3 separate regions of the Homo sapiens genome follow, and all the other regions are linked to region 1. The links are contacts of gene promoters, found by promoter capture Hi-C in blood cells and fetal thymus (Javierre and others, 2016). All regions are on one chromosome and are shown on one strand. The core of a region is centred on a gene start or on the middle of the fragment in contact, and the rest is flanking DNA. Distances in the headings are between cores, read along the strand shown.

Region 1 (3,758 bases), core at 1,080-3,579:
ACTCCCTTACAGGCCTGAGCCACTGCATCCAGCCTAGAATTGACCACTTAGTGCTCCAATCTTTTCCTTATCCTGAGGATGTGAGGAGCTCACTTGTATAAGATTGAGAAGCTTTTTGTTCTCAAAATCTCAGACTTTCCTGAGTGTGAGGGTGACAAGTAAGTTGATGATACCTTTTGACCCCTACTTTCTACATAAGGTAGAAACCTAATCTTGACGATATGTGGCATTAGTTTCATTTATCCAGTGGCCACATCAGGGCTAAGGTTATTTTAGTGTTTTGGAACGTTTTTGGTGTCCATCCCTACCATCCGTTTTCCACCTCATTGAAAGAAGCTCAGCCCAAACTGCTATTAAACTCCAGATTACGGTTTCTAGTAACCTCAGGTGCCTCCCTCCAGACTTAATGTCCTCCACACACTACACCCTGCTGATTTGGAGACTCTTTGAAGCCTAATGTTTGGGGAATGAATAATTAGACCTAGGGTCTCTGGCCTGTGAGATGTTAGGGCTGGAGGGAAGAACTTGCTATCTGATTCCAAAGAAGTGCTGAGAATGTGACACCTGGAGAGGGAAACTTAACATTATTGTTACATGGCATGTCAACTGACAATTTTACAAAGGGTCACTTTTTAGCCAAAGATAGCGATGGCCTCAGTCTGTGGCACCAGCATTCCTGATTTGTGTCCAAAAGGGACTCCATTTTGGGAAAACAGCCAATCTGAAGATTGGAATGGATATTTTTTTTTTTTTTTAAGATGGAGTCTGGCTCTGTCACCCAGGCTGGAGTGCAGTGGCATGATCTCGGCTCACTGCAAGTCCGCCTCCCAGGTTCAAGTGATTCTCCTGCCTCACCCTCCTGAGTAGCTGGGATTACAGGGGCACACCACCACGCCCGGCTAATTTTTGTATCTTTAGTAGAGACGGGGTTTCGCCATGTTGGTCAGGCTGGTCTCAAACTCCTGACCTCGTGATCCGCCCCCCATGGCCTCCCAAAGTGCTGGGATTACAGGTGTGAGCCACCATGCCTGGCCTGGAATGGATAATTTCTCTGCTGCATCTCATTAATTTATACAGCAAGTGTTCACTTCTATATGCTGCACACTAGGGATATGATGGTGTGCACACAGCCCTATTGTCCTGAGATTGCAGATCAGTAGGAATGCTTGGAAGTGAATAAGGTACTCTCCACTCATGCCTTTATCTCTGGACTTTACCTGTCAAGATGAGCCCATGTGTGCAAATATTTCCTGAGTTAGAGCCAGCAAGATCTGAAGTTTTGTAGAAAGGGATGGGTGTGCTACCTTGAGGCCCTGAAAGGTCAGTGAAGTCAGGGCAGAACAATAGGTACTGGAGCTGGGATTTGAGACACAGACAATAGTCCTAACATTTACTGAAGATTTAAAAAATACTAGATGTTCTTAGTAATTCACACGTATTAACCTCACTTAATCCTCACAACAACCCTGTGGTACCATTATTATACCTGGTAAGTGAGGAAGCAGGCACAGAGAGGTAAAGTTGCAAAGTTCATACACTGAGAATCAGGGATTTGAGCCCAAAGCAGTGTTTGATTTGTTTTGTTTTGTTTTTGAGACAGAGTCTCACTCTATCACCCAAGCTGGAGTGCAGTGGCTCAGTCTCTGCTCACTGCAACCTCCCCCTCCCAGGTTCAAGTGATTCTCGCGCCTCAGCCTCCGGAGTAGCTGGAATTACAGGCGCCCACCAGCACACCCGGCTGATTTTTGTATTTTTAGTAGAGACAGGGTTTCTCCATGTTGGGCAGGCTGGTCTTGAACTCCTGACCTCAGGTGATCCGCCCGCCTCGGCCTCCCAAAGTGCTGGGATTACAGGAGTGAGCCACCGCGCCTGGCCTGCAGAACTTTTTCTTTTGGCCACCTGAACAAAGATCCTGGGTCAGTAAGGTGTCAGGGGTTTCTGTGAAGAGGTCAGTTTTCTTCCAGATGAGGATGTGTGTGAGGAAGGTGGAAGCCAGTTTTGTGAAAAGCCTTGAGAATCCCCAAAGGACAGTAACATAGGAAGCTAAATGTGGCGGACTTGCAGGATGAACTGATGCACAGTAAGAGCTCCTTGTGGTCGACCCTTCTGACTTCCATCCCGTTTCCCTGTGCTGGAAGACGCACGCCAGGTGGGGTCGCAGGTTGTTTCTGGTGCCGGCTTAACCGGCGCAGCACCGAAACCCGTAGCTGCGTGCGGGAAGGAACCACCGAGCGGAAGCCGCTCCCACCTTCCTAGAGAGGAGACGGTAGTGGTTATTAGCCGAGGCGCGGACTGCTGACGTCACGCCGGCTGGGCGCGTCCGGGACTTACTCCTTTCCGCAGGGCAGCACCCAGGGACCTGAGTGTTGCAAGGTGCGAGAGGGGAGCGCCGCGGGGAGCGCCGCGGGAAGCGCATGGTGAGCGGTTTCTGCTGTGCCCGGCTGCCGCGGGTCGATTCCAGCTCCTCCCTCGGGAAGCAGGGCGTTTTTCTTCCTGGAGGGCCTGTGGAGCGGAGGCCCGAGGCCTAGGGCAAACTTGCCATGAAGAAAGGAGAGGCTGTTCGAGAGCCCTAGGCTGGGAGTCGGAGGACCTGGGTTCGATTTATACATACTTAAGCATGTCAGTGAACTTCTGGGCACTTTAGTTTTCTGATTTCCAGAAGTAAATACTGTTTCCTGCCTTGCCGTTTCCCAAAGTTGTGCGGGTTGAAGTAAGTATATGCAAGAATTAGTGCCTTCCCTTCATTATTTATTCTTCTCTAACAACAACAAAATAGGTACCGTATGAAGACATGTAGACTCAATACTTTAACAGCAGGCACTATTTATTGAATGCTTACCAGCTGGCATTCTTCTAAGTAGTTGCCATGTAGTAACCCACTTATTCATTACGACAACCCTATAAAGTAGTTACTGGTATCGTCTCCATTTAACAGTTGAAAAAACTGGAGCAAAAAAAGGTTAGGTAACTTGTTCAAAAGTCCTAGTCCTGGAGCCCATGCCATACTTGTAAGTTTGCTGGTGGAAGACAGAATGTAATCAGACTAGAAAGTCCTACAGTAGAAACTTGTAAAATTCTTTGAGAATGTAGACGAGGAAGGGCCTTGGAAAAGTCAAAATTTTCCCACAAGGAAGAGGTGTGAAGTTTCACATTTGAGCTAAATATTAAAGGTTGACTGCAAGCTTGAAAATAATTGCTGGCTTATTTGACCAAATGAGGAAATAAAAGAGACGTTTGAAAATAATTAAACAGTTTGTTCAGTGTCAGTTAAGAGATGCTAGTGGATTGGGATGTATTAGACAGGAAACCAGGTTCCTGCCTTTGAATACAGTGTTCTTTGCATTAGGAGGGTTCTTGAAACCTTTCCCTTATGAAGAGTCCTTAACATCTTACAGCAGATACTCCTTACACAAAGGCAATCCTCTTGTTATTTTCGAGAAATTCCCCCAATTCTAATTGTAGGAGGATAACTGACAGGAAGTTTCCCTGCTGTTGATTCAGCCCGTTCTTAACAAGACCCATTCACCTCACGGCTAGCTCATTTAGTACTTTTCAAATAAATGAATAAACAGATTCAATCAAAGATGGACTGGAAGGGCTTGATTTGAGGTTTTTGCTCTTTTCCCATCTGTATATAGAATCAAAGCTTTGTAGAATGTTGATATTACAAGAAGCTTTAAATATTATCTAGCTTTTCAATTTCATTTAACAAATAAGAAATGGATGAGACTGAGTGACCTGTGTTAGGTCATTGAACA
Region 2 (3,967 bases), core at 1,362-3,861, 210 kb before region 1:
GATAAACTTGTTTTTCTTTCTTTTTTTTTTTTTTTTTTTTGAAACAGAGTCTCGCTCTGTTACCCAGGCTGGAGTGCAGTGGTGAGATCTCGGCTCACTGCAACTTCTGCCTCCCGGGTTCAAGCAAGTCTCCTGCCTCAGCCTCCTAAGTAGCTGGGATTACAGGTGCACACCACCACGCCCAGCTAACTTTTGTATTTTTAGTAGAGATGGGGTTTCACCATGTTGGTCAGGCTGGTCTCGAACTCCTGACTTCGTGATCTGCCTGCCTTGGCCTCCCAAAGTGCTGGGATTACAGGTGTGAGCCACCGTGCCTGGCCTTGTTTTTCTTTTAAAGAACAAGGAGACCAGGCATGTGGCTCACACCTGTGATCCCAGCACTCTGGGTGGCTGACAACACAAGAGGATTGCTTGAGCCCAGGAGTTTGAGGCCAGCCTGGGCAACAGAGGAAGACCCTCCCTACAAAAAAAAAAAAAAATCAAAAAATTAGCTGGATGTGCTGTAACTCTAGCGACTCAGGAGGATCACTTGAGTCTAGGAGTTGCAGACTGCAGTAAGTTATGATTCCACCACTACTCTCCAGCCTGTGTGACAGAGCAAGACCCTGTCTCTAAAAATAAACAAACAAATAAATGTCAGGCCTCTGAGCCGGAGCTAAGCCATTGTAACCCCTGTGACCTGCACGTATACATCCAGACGGCCTGCAGGAGCCAAGAAGTCTGGAGCAGCCGAGAAACCACAAAAGAAATGAAACAGCCAGTTTCAGCCTTAACTGATTAACCAAACTTACGACATTCCACCATTATGACTTGTTCCTGCCCTACCCTAACTGATCAATCGACCTTATGACATTTTTCTCCAGGACAATGGATCTCATGATCTCCCCACCATGCACGTTGTGACCTCCTCCCCCTGCTGACAACAGATGACCACCTTCAACTGTAACTTTCCACTGCCTACCCAAGTCCTGTAAAGTTGCCCCTCTCCTATCTCCCTTCGCTGACTCTCTTTTTGGACTCAGCCCACTTGCACCCAAGTGAATAAACAGCCTTGTTGCTCACACTAAGCCTGTTTAGGTGGTCTTCTATATGGACATACGTGACAATAAATAAATCACAATGAGTCTTAGGTGATGCAGACCTTCTTGATGGCATCCAGAAGTTTGATCAGACCAAGAGATGCAAACAGCTTTGATTGTCAGGCATTCCACCTCCTGCCTACCTACCTTACTCAGAAAAGCCCCCAGTTATGTTCAAAGGGAAATCTTTGAACATAAGACTTGGTTCTGAGTGTCTCTCACCCACTCTGTTTGGTCAAATTAAATAAACCTTTCTCTGCTCCTAAGTGCTGATGTGTCAGTGTTTGGCTTACTGCACATCAGGTACATGGATCTAAATATCGGGGTTCAATAACACATGTAGGTTATTACAGGAATCCACAAAAGGGACCTTCAAGTTGCATCCTGTGTGTGTTTCTTTGGCCTTTATGACATGGTTCGGAAACACAGTAGTCTTATCTGGAGAGCGTGTTAAAACTCTGATCACTGGACCCCACTTTCACATTTATGATTGAGTAGGTCTATGGAGGGACCTGAGAACTTGCCTTCATCACTGGTTCCCAGGTGACACAGCCATTTGGGGCACCATGCTTGGAGAACCACTCCGGAGACCTCTAAATTGGTAGTTCAACCTTAGCTGCACTTAGAAAACACTGGGAAAATTTGTGTGTGTGTAACCAGCTCACGTTTCATTGTGACATTTTGAAATTGTACAAGTATTTTGACATCTGCCCCCCACATTTAGTCTCTTAAAACGACAGGAAAACATCAACCAATCACAGGTTTAATTAGTTTAAAAAATTTACCCCTTCAATTCCTCTTTGTAGCCCCCAGCACCCAATATTCCTTTGAAATATGAAACAGACCCAGCAGTGGCCAACAGTAAATTTCTACCCTGCACCCCACAACAGAGATGAAAAGTTCAAGCTCTCTGAGCATTGTGTTGCAGTGGCACTTGTCCAGAATTGGTACCTCTGCCTAGTTGGGGGAGTTTAAATGTACCAGTGAAAATAGCTTTTTCTCCTTCAAAGGGAAGAAAGAAAATCTCTCCCCAAAACCCAGAAGGTCTGAAGATCTGGCTGTGAGGTCTTTCTCTTTCTTCCTGTCCCATCTCTTCAGACCTTTTTTTTTTTTTTTTTTTTTTTTGGCAGTGGAGCAAGAGAGACCAAAACCTAACTTGAGTTACAAGAAACAAGACAGTGATGGCTATAAAGGGAGTGACCAGGAGCAACTGAGACACTCCTTTACCTCCCACATCCAATGTTTGTGCTTCACAGAAAAACGACAAAAATAACAAATCCACAAAATGCAACAGCTGGAATTACAAATTTCATTCACCCAAGGGTGGTAGAAGGCAGGAAGGAAAGGTGGGAAGGTAAATGGCACAGGGAGAAAAACAAAATATTCAAATCAATCCAGCCATAGGGACTGGCAAATGCTAGAAAAATCGCTGTAAAAAAAAAAAAACTAAAACTAAAAAAACTGTGGTCCTTTCAGACTCTCAGTGGTGTTAAAAATCCACACGCTGGTGTCAGGAAGATTCTACCTTACGTGCACCAGAGATAAAGATTCCAATTCCTCAGAGAGGGAATATGCAGAGGGCCTTTGGCAGGATGAATCGTGCCTTTCCTGGCAGGGGGAGGTAAAATGGGAAAAGAGCTGCCACAGCCTCCTTCCAATCCCACCCATCCCCTCGATGGCAGGTGACTCAGGCCTTCAGTAGCCTTCAATCTGGGTAGAGACATATGTGGTGAAGGGAACTTCTCTGCAGAGGCTGAGCTGCTCAAGGCAGACTGCAGGTGAGAGTGTCTTGTGGAAGAGTCTGTTGCTTAAGAAGACCACGAAGGAGGAGAGGTGCAACTCAAAGAGGTATGCTTGGCCGGGGATCTTTGCCTCATTGCACTGATAATGAATAAAGGAAAGAGGATAGAGAAAAGGCAGCCATGGAAAATATATGAGGACTGCATTGCTGTGAGAAAAGCCAAAAAAACCAAACCCAAAGTAGTAAAGCCAGTTCCTCTCTGTGTTAGAGGAACCGCTGGTGCATTTCAATTCCTTTACTGAACCAACCATATTTGAAGCAGTAGAATGAGTCAAGAAGAGACAAACGCCGGAGAGTAACCAGCTGACCAACAAGGTGGGTGGGAAAGAGACTCACAGACATTCCTTGAATGGGGAAAAGAGCCTGCAGCAAAAGATTGGAGAGCATGTCAGCAGTTATTTTGTGGACACTAGGGAATGGGTGAGGCTTCCTCCCTGATGCTTCAAATGCCAGGTCAGCTGTATCTTGGAACCACATGGCATTCACAACTTTGCTAGGCATGTACAAGGGGAGCACCCAAAGGCCTGGAAATTTATACGAGGAAAAATTCCAGCCATGACCAAGCATCTCCACACAGTGATGGATCATAAGTAATTCACGCTGTTACTCACTGAAGCCCAGGAATAAACACCCGATAAAGCAAGAGTAGACTGAACCAGAGCAGTCCACCCCTCCAAGCGCAACACTGGAAAATTCTACTAACACTTGCTGGCTCACTCTCTTGCTCCCACTCTATACTCTGGGGTATTCTCTGTGCCAGGACAATGCTTGCCCTTCTTCCACGCTGCTCCCCTCTTTTGATGGATTGGAGTGTCTAGCTGGAGATGGTACAAATATCCCAGATGAAGTCTTTGACTCCCCTGGAAAGGTCCTGGAGAAAGGTTTTGACACTGTCAGCCATGTCGTCAGTACCCAAACTATCAACTACGCAGAGGAGATATAAGTGCCCCCAATCTCTCATCATGAAGGACCCTGCAGCTCTGCCACCACGGCTCCAGCCTGGCCCCTCACCCACCACCACGGGCCCAGTTGGCTCCTCTGTGCCAGGCAGCCTGCTCCACCGGGGTGCTCCCAGGGTTGGGATGCT
Region 3 (3,515 bases), core at 484-2,983, 230 kb before region 1:
TTTATTGATAGGGTTTCACTCTGTCATCCAGGCTGGAGTGCAGTACGATCACAACTCACTGTAGCCTCGAACTCCCATGCTCAAGCCACCATGCCCAACTAATTATTTTTATTATTTTTGTAGAAATAAGGTCTCCCTATGTTGCCCAGGCTGGTCTCGAACTCCTGGACTCAAGCAATCCTCCCACCTCAGCCTCCCAAAGTGCTAGGATTAAAGGCATGAGCTATCACACCCAGCCTCATCATCCCTTTCTTCCTTCCAATTTCTCACTTTTGGAATTGGAATACCTAATCCTGCCTATCCCATCACTGTATTTTGGAAGCACATAACTTGTCTGGTTTCATAGGTTCACAGCTGGAGGGGAATTTTGCCTCAGGATAAGCTAAACCTTGGGTCTCACCCATATCTGATTTAGATATTTTTGAGACAAAGTCTCACTGTCGCCCAGGCTGGAGTGCAATGGTGCGATCTCGGCTCACTGCAACCTCTGTCTCTCGGGTTCAAGCGATTCTCCTGCCTCAGCCTCCCCGTGTAGCTGGGATTACAGGTGCACACCATCACGCCCAGCTAATTTTTGTATTTTTAGTAGAGATGGGGTTTCACCATGTTGGTCAGGCTGGTCTCGAACTCCTGACGTAGTGATCCACCCGCCTCGGCCTCCCAAAGTGCTGGGATTACAGGCGTGAGCCACCATGCCCGGCCTTTATTTAGATATTTAGATATTTAGATGAGACTTTGGACTTTAAATGTTAGTTGATACTAGAATGAGTTAAAACTTTGGAGGCTGTTAGGATGGAATGAACTTATTTTGTATGTAAGGATATGAATAGAGTGGCTAGGAGTGGAATGTTATAGAATGAATATTTATGTTGAAGCCCTAACCCCAAATGTTATATTTGGGGGTGGGGGGCCTTTGGAAAATAACTAGGATTGGAGTAGGTCATGAGAATGGGGCTGTCACTCTCACTAACGCCCTTAAAAGACTTGGAAGAGGCACCAGTGCTCTTGCTCTCTGAAATTTGAGGACACAGGAAAAAGGGGGCCATCTGCAAACCAGGAAGAGAGCCCTCACCAGCACTCAACCATTCTGGCATCTTGATGTTGAATTATGAAGACTACAGAACTGTGAGAAATAAATGTCTGTTGTTTAAGCCATCCTCTATGGTATTTTGTTATAATAGCTCAAACTGACTAAAACAGTTGCTAAAGATATATCCCTCCCAATCCCCTCACCCAAAGAACCAGGCCCAGTTACTTTTAGCAAGCCTTCAAGGAACAATTCCCATGTTATACAAACTCTCCATAGCAATAAGATAAACAAAATTTTTTCCAAATTCTTTTGCAAAGCTAGCAAAGCATTACCAAATTGAATCTACTTCTGTACTTAATAAAAATTCACTATGAACAAATAGATTTTACTTGAAAAGTACAAGGAAATTGCAAATATTTGCAAACTTGTCAAGAAAATGAATTACAAAAAGAAAAAACCATAACTCATAAAATTACAATGATGGAGTTTTTAAACTTGATATAATATAGCAACCAATCCTAATAAAAACTTTTTAAGTATAGGCCAGGCATGGTGGCTCACACCTGTATTCCCAGCACTTAGAGAAGCTGAGGCAGGATGATCGCTTGAGGCCAGGACCGCAAGACCAGCCTGAGCAAAATAGTGAAACCCCATGTTTACAAAAAATAAAAATAAAAACTTAGTCGGGCATGGTGGCACATGCCTGTATTCCTAACTATAGGGGAGGTTGAGGCAGGAGCATCTCTTGAGCCCAGGAGTTCAAGGCTGAGGTGACCTATGGTCACATCACTACACTCCAGCCTGAGCAACAGAGGGAGACCTTGTCAAAAAAAAAAACAGAAAACAAAACTGTAAGTATAATAATAATTGGGAAACTGTGCACTGTGTGCCCAGTATTGTTACAATAATGTATTCTTCACAACCCTATGAGGTAGCTCCATTTTATAGATGGAGGAATAAGATACAAGGAAGGTAAGTGATTTGCCCAGGATCACACACCTAACAAAGTGGTGGACTCAGGATTTGAACCTAGGGCACTGGGAACAAAATCTGTGCTCTTAACCACTAAACTACACTGCTTCTTCTAGAAATAAGATTAGAAGGAAACTTCCTAAATCTAACAGAACATCAGAATCCAACAATGAACACGATATGAAACTGCAGAATACTAAAAACATTCCCCCAAGCGTTAAGAGAAAGACATCTACTGTTCCATGTTTTCTGAAGTTCTTGCTAATGCACAACATAAGTGACATCAAAAGACAAATAAATCATTATTTATTCTAAACCTAGAAAAGCTAGGAAATGAATCTAACAAATTATTAAACCTAAAAATAATTTATCAACATAATTGGATCCAGATAAAATTTGTTTAAATCAATAATTAAAGTTTATACTAGCAGTGACCAATAGAAATTGAAGTATGGCTTTCAAATGCAGCCAGTTTTCCTCCATCCAAGAGCCTGAGGCTTTTTCAGGATTCACTTGTACTGAGCACCCACACCAGACTGGTGGCAGTGAGTTAATATAGTTAGGAAATGGTGCACATTCCCACACTCTGGAGGCTTAGTATGGTAGGGGATGAGCAGGCAAGAACCAGAAGGTAAAACTGCAGCTTCCAACAGGCAGGATGGTTCTTCTGCAGACATGACTGGCAATGTCCAACTCAGGGCGGGGAACCAGAAATGTCCAACTCATGTGCTCATATAGTGTGGGGCTCTTCCCTGAAATCTGGGGGCTCCCAAAATAAGACAGTTAAAGAGGAAAAAGTCCTATCTGCATATCTTTTAAAAGAAAATGGAAAAAAATACAAAAAAACAAGCTGAAAACATTTAAAATACATATTCACAAATGGTAAAATTCCAGCCGTGTCATGAGCTCCGGTTTGTTGTTTTGTTGTTGTTATTGAGACAGAGTCTCGCTCTGTTGCCCAGGCTGCAGTACAGTGGTGTGATCTTGGCTCACTGCAATCTCTGCCCTCCAGGTTCAAGTGATTCTCTTGCCTCAGACTCCTGAATAGCTGGGATTACAGGCGTGCACCACCACACCCAGCTAATTTTTGTATTTTTAGTAGAAACGGGGTTTTACAATGTTGGCCAGGCTGGTCTCAAACTCCTGGACTCAGGTGATCTGACCGCCTCAGCCTCCCAAAGTGCTGGGATTACAGGCATGAGCCACTGTGCCCAGACAAGTTTAGAAATTTCAAAAGGCCCTGAAAAACTTTAGGCCCCCAGTAATCCTTTCTAACTTTGTCTGAGACATCTCCCCAACAATCACATTTAATTCTAATTTTCTTGATCCTCAACTCTCTTTCCTTTCTCCTGCATTGTCTGAAACATACACCACAGTGCACAAAATCACCCCTCCAGGTTACATGACTGACATTGCCCCTCTAGCCTCCTCCTCCACCTTTGTCATACTGCGGATCCTGTCAGCCTGTTAAGAAATCTGGGGGATGGAGGCCAGGCGTGGTGGCTCATGCCTG

The links. Contacts are between HindIII fragments. The CHiCAGO score rates a contact against its expected background, and 5 or more counts as called.
Region 2: a contact is called between a fragment that was not itself captured here and the fragment with the promoter of ZNF501 in region 1, in 1 of 17 cell types (erythroblasts). The highest score is 5.3, in erythroblasts.
Region 3: a fragment that was not itself captured here is called in contact with the fragment with the promoter of ZNF501 in region 1 in 12 of 17 cell types (erythroblasts, total CD4 T cells, non-activated CD4 T cells and 9 more); the score reaches 9.1 in erythroblasts.

The regions. Positions count from the first base shown.
Region 1 is chr3:44,727,306-44,731,063 of GRCh38, forward strand. It overlaps ZNF501 (zinc finger protein 501), which reads left to right and starts at 2,330. Exons shown (of 3, transcript NM_001258280.2): 1 at 2,330-2,710. It overlaps LOC105377056 (a long non-coding RNA gene), which reads right to left and starts at 2,221. Exons shown (of 3, transcript XR_940788.4): 1 at 1,487-2,221. RefSeq lists an enhancer at 2,141-2,210. The HindIII fragment of the contact is 3,071 bases long and covers 110-3,180 here.
Region 2 is chr3:44,521,974-44,525,940 of GRCh38, forward strand. It overlaps the pseudogene EI24P3. Among named protein-coding and RNA genes, the nearest start is that of ZNF852, 13 kb to the left of the region's middle. The HindIII fragment of the contact is 5,662 bases long and covers 1-3,967 here.
Region 3 is chr3:44,493,252-44,496,766 of GRCh38, forward strand. It overlaps ZNF852 (zinc finger protein 852), which reads right to left. Exons shown (of 4, transcript NM_001423469.1): 4 at 1-3,515. Among named protein-coding and RNA genes, the nearest start is that of ZNF852, 16 kb to the right of the region's middle. The HindIII fragment of the contact is 5,935 bases long and covers 1-3,515 here.